2 separate regions of the Homo sapiens genome follow, and region 2 is linked to region 1. Evidence: promoter capture Hi-C in 16 types of primary human blood cells and fetal thymus (Javierre and others, 2016). All regions are on one chromosome and are shown on one strand. Each heading gives the region's core, a stretch centred on a gene start or on the middle of the fragment in contact. The rest is flanking DNA. Distances are from core to core; before and after follow the strand shown.

What was found. The method cuts DNA at HindIII sites, captures the fragments that hold promoters and counts their contacts. A CHiCAGO score of 5 or more calls a contact.
Region 2: a fragment that was not itself captured here is called in contact with the fragment with the promoter of VN1R1 in region 1 in 1 of 17 cell types (total CD4 T cells); the score reaches 5.5 in total CD4 T cells.

The regions. Positions count from the first base shown.
Region 1 is chr19:57,452,013-57,458,700 of GRCh38, forward strand. VN1R1 (vomeronasal 1 receptor 1) reads right to left here and starts at 5,128. Exons shown (of 1, transcript NM_020633.4): 1 at 2,778-5,128. The coding sequence starts at 4,474. The coding sequence ends at 3,413. The HindIII fragment of the contact is 5,648 bases long and covers 1-5,561 here.
Region 2 is chr19:37,625,989-37,632,772 of GRCh38, forward strand. It overlaps ZFP30 (ZFP30 zinc finger protein), which reads right to left. Exons shown (of 6, transcript NM_001320669.3): 6 at 5,018-6,784. Among named protein-coding and RNA genes, the nearest start is that of ZFP30, 26 kb to the right of the region's middle. The HindIII fragment of the contact is 7,896 bases long and covers 851-6,784 here.

The sequences.
Region 1 (6,688 bases), core at 3,878-6,377:
ATATGAAGTATGAGACACCAGCAAACTAGAGTGGAATGGATGAGCGCCTTGTAAAGAGACATCCATGAATGTTTCAGTAACTATGGCTATGTGAGATGAGGGTATACAGAAACTCTGAGGACCTACAGACGTGTGTATCTCCTGTAGGCAAAGTCATTGTCAGAGCAAGTAATCCAAAGGTGTTATGGATTCTTGTGTCTCTGGCGTTATAAAACGTATGTTGAATTTTAATTGCCATTTTAACAGTGTGGAGAAATGGGACCTTTAAGAGGTGATTAGGTCATGATGGCTCTGCCCTTATAAAGGAATCAATGCCTTTATCATAAGAGTGGGTTTGTTAACCCGAGAGTGACGTTTTTATAAAATCAGCTGTCTCTGTCTTTCATGCTCACTTGCCCTTCTGTCATATTATGACAGAGTAACAAGGCCCTCACCAGATGCCAAGCAGATACCAGTGCCATACCCTTGGACTTCCCAGCCTCCAGAACTGTATGAAACAAACTACTTTATAAATTACGCAATCTGTGGTGTTTTGCTATAGTAGTGGAAGACAGACACAGACATAAAGCCTGTTAATTCAAACCACTACTGCACAGGTAGGAGCCTCATGACTGAATGAAGGGAGATTCTATACTTCTGAGATAAGTCTTTTTTTTTTTTAAACCTAAACATAATTCCTGGTGACTCAGGTGGACATAACCTTCCTTGTCTCCAGTTCTTCTTCCCCGAGATTCTGAATTTCCAACAACATTGCTTCCAGTTTTTGATACTATAAAATCAGAGTTGACCCACGTAAGACATGAGGAGAGGCTAATGATGGAATCAACACAGCTTTGCCAGAGGTTATAAAAGAGGATTGAGAAATCCAGATTTTATTTGGAATTTTTCTTTTCTAACAGCTTTATTGAGGTATTAGTGACATTCAGTTGCACATTGTTAAAGTGTAAAATATATAAAAACAATCACCAAAGTCATGATAATAAACATATCCATTGCCTCAATAGTTTGTTTGTACCCTTTTCTATTCTCTCTCGCTCACAGTCCTACCCAAATTTTTATGCTCAGGTAGCCACTGGTTTACTTTATGTCACTATATACATCTTTCCTTCCTTCCTTCCTCCCTCCCTCCTGCTCTTTTCTTTTTCCTTTTTTCTTTTCTTTTTTCTTTGTTTCTTTCCCTCCCTCCTTCTCTTCTCCTCTCCTCTCCTCCTCTCCTCCTCCTCTCCTCTCCTCTCTTCTCTTCTTTCTCTTTCTCAGAATTTCACTCTTGTTGCCCAGGCTGGAGTGCAATGGCACGATCTCAGCTCACCGCAACCTCCACCTTCTGGGTTCAAGCGATTCTCCTGCCTCAGCCTCCTGAGTAGCTAGGATTACAGGCATGCGCCACCACGCCTGGCTAATTTTGTATTTTTAGTAGAGACGGGGGTTTCTCCATGTTGGCCAGGCTGGTCTCGAACGCCTGACCTCAAGTGATCCACCTGCCTTGGCCTCCCAAAGTGTTGGGATTACAGGCGTGAGCCACCATGCCCGGCCTATAAATTTTCTAGTATCTTATACAAATGAAATCCTACATTACATTCATATGGAGCATTTTTTGATATTTATACATGTTAAGCGTATTCATTTTTTGTTGATGAAGAGTATTGCATTGAATATACCACAATTTATTAATCTATTAATAAATATTTTGATTGTTTCTAGTGTTGGACTAAAAAACTAACAAAGACCCATGAACATTCATATACAAGTGTTTATATGAATATATTTAGCAGAATTGCATTTGTTATACCTCCTTGTCCATGATGGTTATGGTGTATTTTAAAGATTAACCATTTTCATAGATGTGTTGTGGTCAGTGTGGTTTTTAAATTTGCATTTCTCTAATAATTAATGATGCTGAATAAGTTTTTATATGCTTATTTGTTATCTGTATATTTGGCCAAATTTCTAAATCTTTTCCCTTTTTTTAAAAAAAAATCTTATTTTTCTATTTTAATAGAGTTTTAATTTTAGAACATTTTAAGATGTACAGAGAAATTGCAAATATAGTACAGAGATATCTCATTTACAAGCACACCTAGTTGTTACTAATATATAGTCATATATTAGTATACAGCATTATTTACAATTAGTGAAACAGTTTTGATACATTATTAAACTAAAGTACATCTTTGATTGAGATTTCCTCAGTTTTTACCAAAATACATGTTCTGTTCCAGAATTCCACCTAGGATACCACATTGCATTTATTTTATTATTTTTTATTCTTTTATTTATTTTTTTTCATGTGTCTCTAAATGTAACCACATTACAGTTAGTACTCACATTTCTTTAGGCTTGTCTTGCTTATGAGAATACTCATTTATTTTGATATTGATTTTTAATTTTTTTTTTTTTAGATAGTCTTGCTCTATTGTCCAGGCTGGAGTGCAGAAGCACTTTCTTTCTTTCTTTTTTTTTTTTTTTTTTGAGACGGCGTCTTGCCCTGTCTCCCAGGCTGGAGTGCAGTGGTGGGATCTCGACTCACTGCAACCTCTGCCTACTGGGTTCAAGGATTCTCCTGCCTCAGTCTCCTGAGTAGCTGGGATTACAGGCACCTGCCACCATGTCTGGCTAATTTTTGTATTTTTAATAGAGATGGGGTTTCACCATGTTGGCCAGGCTGGTCTTGAACTCCTGACTTCAAGTGATCTGCCCACCTCAGCCTCTCAAAGTGCTGGGGTTACCGGCGTGACCCACGGTGCCCAGCCACTTTTAGTTATTTTTATTTTTATTTTGAGTCTCCCTCCGTCACCCAAGCTGGTAAGTAATTCTCGTGCTTCACCCTCTGGAGTAGCTGGGACTACAGGTGTGTGCCACATGGTTGGCTAATTTTTGTATTTGAGACAGGGTTTTTGCCATGTTGGCCAGGCTGGTCTCGAACTCCTGGCCTCAAGTCATCTTGAGTGGATCACTTGAGGCATTTGGGAGTGCCTCAGCCTCCCAAAACGGTGGGATTACAGGCGTGAGCCACTGTGCCCGGCCTGCACATGTCTTTCTTACATGTGGACTCTCCAGGGGATTTATGCTGTTCAAGAAGCACCTGAATCAAACTGTGCTTTAAAAATATTTTTAAAACATTCCATGATTCTTCATAGTACAAAAATGAGAAATCTCCCCTAAATCTCTAAAGAATTCCCTTTTTAAACTTTTTGATTTCCTGAACTTGTCTGAAGGACTTAACACAGTTATATAGAGTGTTCTTTGTGTAACAGTATCCATGACTTTCATTTTTAGCTCTGGTATTAGATCTTCCTGGACAAGAGCATTACTGGCCATGTGTATGTTGCTATCACAAATAACTAGTAGTTAATATTTCCTAAATCTTAGCAAGAGTTATGATAAATAGCTGAATTCCATGAAGAGAAAAGACTCATGGCATGACAACCAGATTAGGAAAGAGTGTTTTCCTTGTCCTGCAGGCAAAACAGAACTGAGAGATATGAGTATCACTCATGATGAGGACAAAAGGGCTGCGTGCTGGGAAACATGAGGCGACCAACACAGAGTTGGTCACTATCCACTGGCCTGGGTTTGCAACTACAGTTGTCCAAATTGTCAGAAAACTATGGACTGAATAGAAAACAAAAAAGGAGCTCACCAGGACCATGATGGTGTGTGTGGCTCTGGCTTCCTGGGAAGGTCTGCAGGAGAGTCTGTTGCTGTGATTGTGTTGGACTTGCTGCTTGTGTCTGTAGAGGAAGAAGACCATGGAGCCACTGGCCCAGACCATGAAGCCCAAACTCATAAAATCAGGGGAAAAATATAAGACTGCATGTAATGAGCTAAATCTCTTTGATGCTTTGTAAGAACAGTATCCATAATTGTTTTTTGCACTACTGTTTTTGCTATTCAGTGGGCCATTCACTAATAGAAGAACAGATGCATTCATCAAGACATGGGGGGCCCAGCAGAGGAGACAACAGAAGTCAATAAACCTTGGGGATCTAATCTTGATCTCCATCCACCTGCATATACTGGGGTTGAGCTTAATGGCTTGGAATCCATTGAGAAGGCAGATGGTGCTGAGGGAAACTCTTGTGCCCACCCTGTGATAATAAAAGACAAACTTACATCCAGTGTCATTCAGCAAATATTTCAATCCAAAAGCTGCCATTGTCTGAGGTATCCCTTTAAAGAAAAGGACCATGGAGTTAGCCAAGGCCAGTTGGCTGAGAATCAAGTCCGTGGGTCTCAGCTTGTGTCCAGTGAACAAAATTAAGTTATAAAAACAAAGGAGAAAGGAATTTCCCAGGATCCCAACTCCAGTCTGAATGAGGAAGCTAATCCCTGATTTTACTTTTCCAAAAGCCATTTCATCAAAATCTAGGGGATGTTGATTTTCATTGAGGTCTGAAGAATCAGTAGAATAAAAAAGCAGAAAGAAGTATCTTGTCATCAGTGGAGACAGAAGTTTTAATGTGTCTCCAACCATATTTTCTCATCTTAAACAGAAATTAAGATTGTCCCTGTTCGTGCAAAGGCAATTGCTTGTGTGTCCAACTGCAGAGAAGCAGGTGAATGAATGAGGGCTCAACCGCACAACAGATCCACAAATCAAACCTATAAAACTCAGGGCTTACACACATGCAACAAGTAAATACAAGCAAAACTAGGGAAATATATAAAAACAGAACACAGAAGAGTCAATATCATTAGAGTGATATTATACTATAGTTTGCAAAATGTAATCATGACGGAACCCTGGGTAATATGGACAGGGCTTTTTCTGTATTATTTCTTATGACTGCTTGTGAGTCTACACTTATTTCAATAAAACCTTCAATTAAGTAGCCTGGAGATATGAAAAGCAAAAATAATACACCATAAAACCTTTTCCACACTAATATTTTAGTAAACACCATTGTTATTGATGCATTGAAACAAATTTTAGGCCGGGTGCAGTGGCTCACACCTGTAATTCCAGCACTTCGGGAGGCCAAGATGGAGACCATCCTGGCCAACATGGTGAAACCCTGTCTCTACTAATAATACAAAATACTAATAATACAAAAATTAGCCGGGCATGGCGGCGCGTGCTAGTCCCAGCTACTCGGGAGGCTGAGGCAGGAGAATCGCTTGAACCTGGGAGGCAGAGGTTGCAGTGAGCTGAAATCAAACCATTGCCCTCCAGCCTGGGCGACAGAGCGAGACTCTGTCTCAAAAAAAAAAAAAAAAGAAATTAAAAAAACGCTACAATACAATTGGTAACAAGGCCTTCAGCACAGTACAAATGCTAACTTGAAGAATTTTTAAAAACTATAATTTTTGGAACAATCAACATTGCATCATGGTATATTTTATTTTAAGCACATATATTTCTGTTATTTTCCACCGGACAGGTCTAGAGATTGTGAATTGACTCCGTAGAAATAACCATGACCACCTTGAGCCCACACATTTTTATCTCAATGCCATTTCTCACAAGTAAATGCAAAAGATCCTGAAAATAAATACTAATCCCAGAAACACCTAAGATATCCTTAAAACTTGTTAAATAGGAAATTCAATATGTTCCAGAAAGCTTGGGTTTATTTTTAGGGAAAGATAATTCAATTGGGAGGGAATTTCATTGCACAATATTCATATATATCAATCACAAAAGAAATAGTAACTGCGGCCAGGCACGGTGGCTCACGCTTGTAATCTCAGCACTTTGGGAGGCTGAGGCGGGTGGATTACAAGGTCAGGAGATGGAGACCATCCTGGCCAACATGGTGAAACCCCGTCTCTACTAAAAATACAAAAATTAGCTGGGTGTTGTGGTGCGTGCCTGTAGTCCCAGCTACTCGGGAGGCTGAAGCCTCCTGGGTTCACGCCATTCTCCTGCCTCAGCCTCCTGAGTAGCTGGGACTACAGGCGCCCACCACCACGCCCGGCTAGTGTGTGTGTGTGTGTGTGTGTGTGTGTGTGTGTGTTTAGTAGAGACGGGGTTGCACCGTGTTAGCCAGGATGGTCTCGATCTCCTGACCTCGTGATCCGCCCGCCTCGGCCTCCCAAAGTGCTGGGATTACAGGGATGAGCCACCTCGCCCGGCCATAATTTAGATTCTTTTGGTGTCTCTATGGAATTGCTATCATCAGGGAAAATTATGAGGTATTTTCTCCCATGAATAACTACATCTCTTTAGGGGTGGAGCAATCAATAACACAGCAGTATCAAGATTCTCAGGCGAGAGGTGGCTCACGCCTGTAATCCCAGCAGTTTGGGAGGCCGAGGCTGGTGGATCAGCTGAGGTCGGGAGTTCGAGACCAGCCTGACCAACAGGGAGAAACCCCGTCTCTACTAAAAATACAAAAATTAGTCAGAGGTGGTGGCGCATGCCTGTAATCCCAGCTACTCGGGAGGCTGAGGCAGGAGAATCGTTTGAACCCCAGAGGCGGAGGTTGCAGTGAGCCGAGATCATGCCATTGCACTCCAGCCTGAGCAACAAGAGTGAAACTCGGTCTCAAAAAAAAAAAAAAAAAACTCAGGCTCTGAGGTATGAAAACCTTTTAGATTCCCACAAACCACTTGTTGACAAATGTTTTTCCTATTTATATGAACTCATCATTTATTTTCAAGATAGTTCCTGATTCTTTGCTTTAATCTCTTATTTTGCTCCATTGTCCTAGTTGTATAATTTATTTCCAATATGCATTTGGTTTCC
Region 2 (6,784 bases), core at 3,549-6,048, about 20 Mb before region 1:
AGCCAGGCGTGGTAGCATACGCCCATAATCCCAGCTACTCGGGAGGCTGAGGCAGGAGATTGCTTGAACACAGGGTGCAGAGGTTGCAGTGAGCCCTCAAAAAAAATAACGAAAATTATAAAAAGATCAGTTCACCAAGAAAACATAATAATCCTAAATGCTATGCCTCATATATCAGAGTTTCAAAATACATAAACAAAAAGCTATCAGAACTCATTATAGTTGAGAACTTTTATACATCTCTCTCAGCAATTGGGAGCGTTCTCAAAGTTATAAAGGGCCTGAGTTGGGGGAAAAACACATCTATAGTGCAGTCATGAAAATGTAGCCTCAGGGAAAAGATGAAGCCAATGTTTATTCTTTCTGTGAAACAGCAGGGCCTCTAAGAATCTGTCATTTTTGGGCCAGGCATGGTGGCTCACGCCTGTAATCCCAGCACTTTGGGAGGCTGAGGCGGGCGGATCACGAGGTCAGGAGATCGAGACCATCCTGGCCAACATGGTGAAACCCCGTCTCTATTAAAAATACAAAAAAATTAGCTGGGCGTGGTGGCGGGCACCTGTAGTCCCAGCTACTCAGGAGGCTGAGACAGGAGAATGGTGTGAACCTGGGAGGCGGAGCTTGCAGTGAGCCGAGATTGCACCACTGCACTCCAGCCTGGGCAACAGAGAGAGACTCTGTCTCAAAAAAAAAAAAAAAAAAGTATCTGTCATTTTTCCACAGTGGCCTCTTAGGGAGCACAATAAAGAGAAGAGCCTGTGGTGTGTCTTTTGTTTCATTTAATGAACCCTAATAAAATTCACAGTATACACAGAATTTTCAAGAGAATTGTACTACTTGATGCACTACAAGCTTGAGCTTACAGGGGCAGAAACGGTACAAAGTGAGAAAGGATCTTTGGGTTCCCAAATATCTACAAGAAAAAAGTATGAGAATAGTACTCAGTTGTAAACATGGGCTACTTTTTATGAAGAAAAAAAAGAAAACCCCAGCGTGACTCAGAAAGTGCAACCAAAAGATCAGATGGCAGGACAAGAGCCATAGAAAATCATTTCCAGGGAACGCTGATCAAGGAGCTGGTTATGTGTGCCCAGCCAGATTTCAGAATTGTTACGATTAGCAATTTCCTTCAACTGTTTTACCCACCAACTTTCTGAATCTGAATGCTTATTATTCTATGGCTGTTCCACCACTGGATGTGGGTGTGTCAAGAAACTGTAGATTGAAGTTAGTTCCCAATATTGTGGACTGAGAGGGCTCATACTCAAGGAGTGTATCCCAGGAACTGCACTGAAGGAGGCTTATCCACACCTGGACTTGATTTTTTTTCTTTCCAAATTTAATTTTAGGTGCAGGGGGTACATGTGCAGGTGTGTTACATGGGTAAATTGTGTGTTGTAGGGGTTTGGTGCAGATTATTCATCACCCAGGTAATAAGGGTACTACCCAAGAGGTAGTTTTTTGATTCTCATCCTCCCACCCTCTGTCTTCAAGTAGTCCCTGGTATCTATTGTTCCCTGCCTTGTGTCCATGTGTACTCTGTGTTTAGCTCCCACTTATAAGTGAGAACATGCTGGTTTTGGTTTTCTGTTCCTGTGTTAACTTGCTTAGAATAATGGCCTCCAGCTCCATCCTTGTTGCTGCAAAGGATATGATTTTGTTCTTTTTTATAGCTGTGTAGTATTCCATGGTGTATGTATGTATGTATGTATGTATGTATGTGTGTGTGTGTATATATATATATGGTGTATGTGTATATATATATGGTGTATGTGTGTGTATATATATATACACACACACACACACACACATTTTCTTTATCTAGCTGGGTTTGATTTAGATAAGGTCCTAGACTTCAAATTGATACTGTAATAGGATGAGACTTTGGAAGCCTGAGGGAAGTGCATGAGTGTATTTTCATGGGGCAGGATGTGAATGGTGGCCAGGAGGCAAAATGTGGCAGACTGTATTTTTCAAAGATGGATACAATAATATTTCCCATCCCACATGGTCTTCTACAGTATGTTCTTAGCACTTTTCCATCAAGAGGTAAACTCAAATTCCCCTTCCTTTGAATTTGGGCTGGATTTAAGTCTCACTAGTAACCATTAAAATGCAGAAGTGATGCTGTAATACTTCCAAAGCTAGGTCAGAAAAGGCCAGCTTCCACCTGGTTCTCTTAGAATGTTCACTCTTGGGATGTTCATCTTGGAATAAACATTCTGTGAAAAATCTGTGACCATGTAGGTGTTCCTGCTGCCAGTTCTAGCTAAGATTGGTATTCAAGTCCTCCAAGTCCAAAATTCAAGCATGAGAGAGAAGAAGCCTGGAAGTGGATATTCTAGCCCTACCTGGACTAGTCATTCAAATAACCCCAGCTGAGACTCCAGACATCATGAAGCAAAGAAAAAACATCCCTGCTGTATTCTCTCTGGATTTTTGACCCACAGAACCTATGAGCATAACATGCTTGTCTTATGGCACGAAGTTTTGGGTGGCTTGTTACGCAGCAATCATCAGAGCACTTAAACCCTTCTCAAAAAGAACCACTGGAAAGTTATACCAAAGAGTAATAAAATGGTTTTTTTTAAGAGGGAATTGATGGAACAGATTGTATGGAACACAAACTGATGCAAAATTTCTCTGAACACATTTTATGTTTTTAACTTTAAAATCATGAAAATGTTATAGTCTTTAAAAGTAAAATTGAATCAGAAATAAAAATGGCAGTCCTTGAACACTGAAAATAAATAGAAACGAATGAATCTAGCTGGAAATCAGGTTGGTTAGAACTAAGCATTTTCCCTCTACATTCGTAGTGAATGATATTTGAAGGACGGAGAGTGATGCCAAGAAATCTTCAACTTCATTCAGCATTCATGTTTGGTAGTAATGCTCGTATTCTGTTGTAAGTATTTTATACTGTTTATAGATCACAGCACATACATTAGTTCATTGTTAAAATCCAACAAGATGTTCAGGGGAAAAGCAAAAGACGCGAGAATAAAATTAAAGTTAAAAATAATGTGGTATTAAATTTGAATTGGAAGTATCAATATAAACTCAGTTTTTATTCTCCTAAGTTAAAAAAACTTTTAATTGAACTATAATAAACGTAAAGTATACAAATGTACAACTCAATGAATTTTCACAAACTGAATACATCAGAGTAATCAGCACGCAAATCAAGCAACAAAACATTACTAGCATCTACAGAAACCTCCCATTGCTCTTACCATCACTATCCCTCCTGCCATGTACCCCTACCCCCCTCACCCCCACCAGTATCTTTTTTTTTTTTTTAGAGACGGAGTCTCTCTCTGTTGCCCAGGTTGGAGTGCAGTGGCGCGATCTCGGCTCACTGCAAGCTCCGCCTCCTGGGTTCACGCCATTCTCCTGCCTCAGCCACCTGAGTAGCGGGGACTACAGGCGCCCGCCACCATGCCCCGCTAATTTTGTTTTTGTATTTTTAGTAGAGACAGGGTTTCACCGTGTTAGCCCGGATGGTCTCGATCTCCTGACATCATGATCCGCCCGCCTCAGCCTCCCAAAGTGCTGGGATTACAGGCGCCCGCCACCACGCCCGGCTAATTTTTTGTATTTTCAGTATTTTTTTTTTTTTTTTTGAGACGGAGTCTCGCTCTGTCGCCCAGGCTGGAGTGCAGTGGCGCAATCTCAGCTCACCGCAAGCTCCACCTCCCGGGTTCACGCCATTCTCCTGCCTCAGCCTCCCCAGCAGCTGGGCCTACAGGCGCCCGCCACCACGCCCAGCTAATTTTTTTGTATTTTTAGTAGAGACGGGTTTTCATCGATCTCCTAACCTCGTGATCCGCCCGCCTCGGCCTCCCAAAGTGCTGGGATTACAGGCGTGAGCCACGGTGCCTGGCCGTATCCTGACTTCTAACTACATTAAAAAGTTCTCAATTTTTGTATTCCATATAATCATATAGTATGTCCTCTTTTGAAGGGGTGGGTTGCCCCTCCACACCTGTGGGTGTTTCTCGTAAGGTGGAACGAGAGACTTAGGAAAGAAAAAGACACAAAGTATAGAGAAAGAAATAAGGGGACCCGGGGAACCAGCGTTCAGCATATGGAGGATCTCGCCAGCCTCTGAGTTCCCTTAGTATTTATTCATCATTCGTGGGTGTTTCTCCGAGAGGGGGATATGTCAGGGTCACAAGACAATTGTGGGGAGAGGGTCAGCAGACAAACACGTGAACAAAGGTCTTTGCATCATAGACAATGTAAAGGATTAAGTGCTGTGCTTTTAGATATGCATACACATAAACATCTCAATGCTTTACAAAGCAGTATTGCTGCCCGCAGGTCCTACCTCCAGCCCTAAGGCGGTTTTTCCCTATCTCAGTAGATGGAACGTACAATCGGGTTTTATACCAAGACATTCCATTGCCCAGGGACGGGCAGGAGACAGATGCCTTCCTCTTGTCTCAACTGCAAGAGGCATTCCTTCCTCTTTTACTAATCCTCCTCAGCACAGACCCTTTACGGGTGTCGGGCTGGGGGACGGTCAGGTCTTTCCCTTCCCACGAGGCCATATTTCAGACTATCACATGGGGAGAAACCTTGGACAATACCTGGCTTTCCTAGGCAGAGGTCCCTGCGGCCTTCCGCAGTGTTTGTGTCCCTGGGTACTTGAGATTAGGGAGTGGTGATGACTCTCAAGGAGCATGCTGCCTTCAAGCAGCTGTTTAACAAAGCACATCTTGCACCGCCCTTAATCCATTTAACTCTGAGTTGACACAGCACATGTTTCAGAGAGCACGGGGTTGGGGGTAAGGTTATAGATTAACAGAATCTCAAGGCAGAAGAATTTTTCTTAGTACAGAACAAAATGGAGTCTCCTATGTCTACTTCTTTCTACACAGACACAGTAACAATCTGATCTCTCTTGCTTTTCCCCACACTCTTTTATGTCTGGCTTCTTTTGCCCAGCATTATGCTTTTGAGATTTATCTGTATTGTACACAGTCATAGGTTGTTCATTTTCATTGCAGTATAGTGTTGATTCAGAAATTTTATTTCTGCAGAAAAGCAACAGTTCAATATTCAGAAAGAACAGGTGACTTTAGAACATGATGCCACATCCAGGGAAACATACCTCACATCCACCTTCCAACACAACTAACCACCTGACATGAGGTCCGAACTTTCCACCTTTGCTGTCACCTGTTTTGGTTACAGCACTTATCTGTTAAAATGGGTTCATATCCCATACTCACAAGCATTAAGAGTGAAAGTTACAGGGTAAAAGGTGCTTCAGATACATTAAGTTAAATAAAATCAATTAAACTCTCATTACTTCATTATTTGGAGAAGCTATAGTTTTATTTTCTTAATTATTAATTTTAATATGCTCATTTAACCACAGAATGCTTTCTAAAAATACCATCAAGCACTAGTGTTTCCTGGGAAATGGTTTCAAATGCTATCAAGTTTCATATTCCATTTGAGAAATGGAATATAATGATGTAATACACTGAACATCATGGCTTCCCAATTATAACAGCAAATACAGTTCATAATGGATGACCACGGTGAAATCACCGAAGTCCAACTGATGCAATCATTTATAAGAACTCTGTCTTTATTAATTTTGAGAAGGTAATTTTAAGGTGTTGGGTTACACTTTTACATACATAAAATTCATTCCATTCTTAATACATAGAAAGCTAAAAAAAAAAAAAAAAAAAAGACAATAAGCATGAATTGAGATGATACTGGGCCAGAATCGTATCTCTTTTACTATCATTATGATGTTCTGAAGGTAGAATGCCTAGAATCTAAATATATAATTAAAGCTGGATGGATCTGGTCCAAGTTATTCCACATAAATGATTTTCTATTCTAAACTGTTGGATATAATTTCCCATAGAAATTAGAATTACCAGATTTCTCTTCATACGGAAAATGTCTAGATTTTCGTTTTGCCAGCCCTCCTCACCTAGTTCTTATAATCAGTTTTAGGTTAGTCTTGTAGAATAGTATGTTGGAAAAATTTAGCAATTACCAATTCTTCAAAGATTTTACTTGTAAAAAATTAGGTTCTCGGAGTCTCTCTGAGACCACTCTGGCTCAGGAGAGTAGGATTTTTTTTTTTTAAAGTTAGATTCTAAATGTATTCTTTTAGAAAGCGTATCTTCTAACCGTCTTAATTTTTCATTTGTTTGTTGGTCTACTCAGGCTCTCTTCATTCAGCATGTGAAGTCAATTTTAGTAATTTTTACCATAAAATAATTCTGGATTTTCAATATTTTAAAATACATGTATAGTGTGTGTATAAATATAAATATATATACCTACACACTATACACACACACATTACATATATGTAGTATAGCAACTTATAACTTTAAAAATCCATAGCTGTCACTTTTATCATTCATATAGCTGTAGCTGTGTAATCTTTCATATTTCTGTGATCAAAACTGCAAAGGTCTTGACTATATTGGTATCTTTTAAAGAAACACACACAAAAAAACCAAGTCTACTTTTTATTGTTTATGCCAGCGCTGACAATAGAAATACGTGAGCTACATATATAAATTTTCCTATAACAATTTTAAAAACAAAAAAGTGTTATTCATTTTAATGTATTTTATTTGAACCAATATATCTAAAATATTATTTCAATATGTACTCAATATGAAAAATTGAGATACTTAACTTTTTTAAAATAACTAAGTCTTCAGAATCTTGTGTTTTACAAAAAAACACCATTTGAATTTGGACTAGCCACATTTCAGTGCTCAATAACTCAATTTCA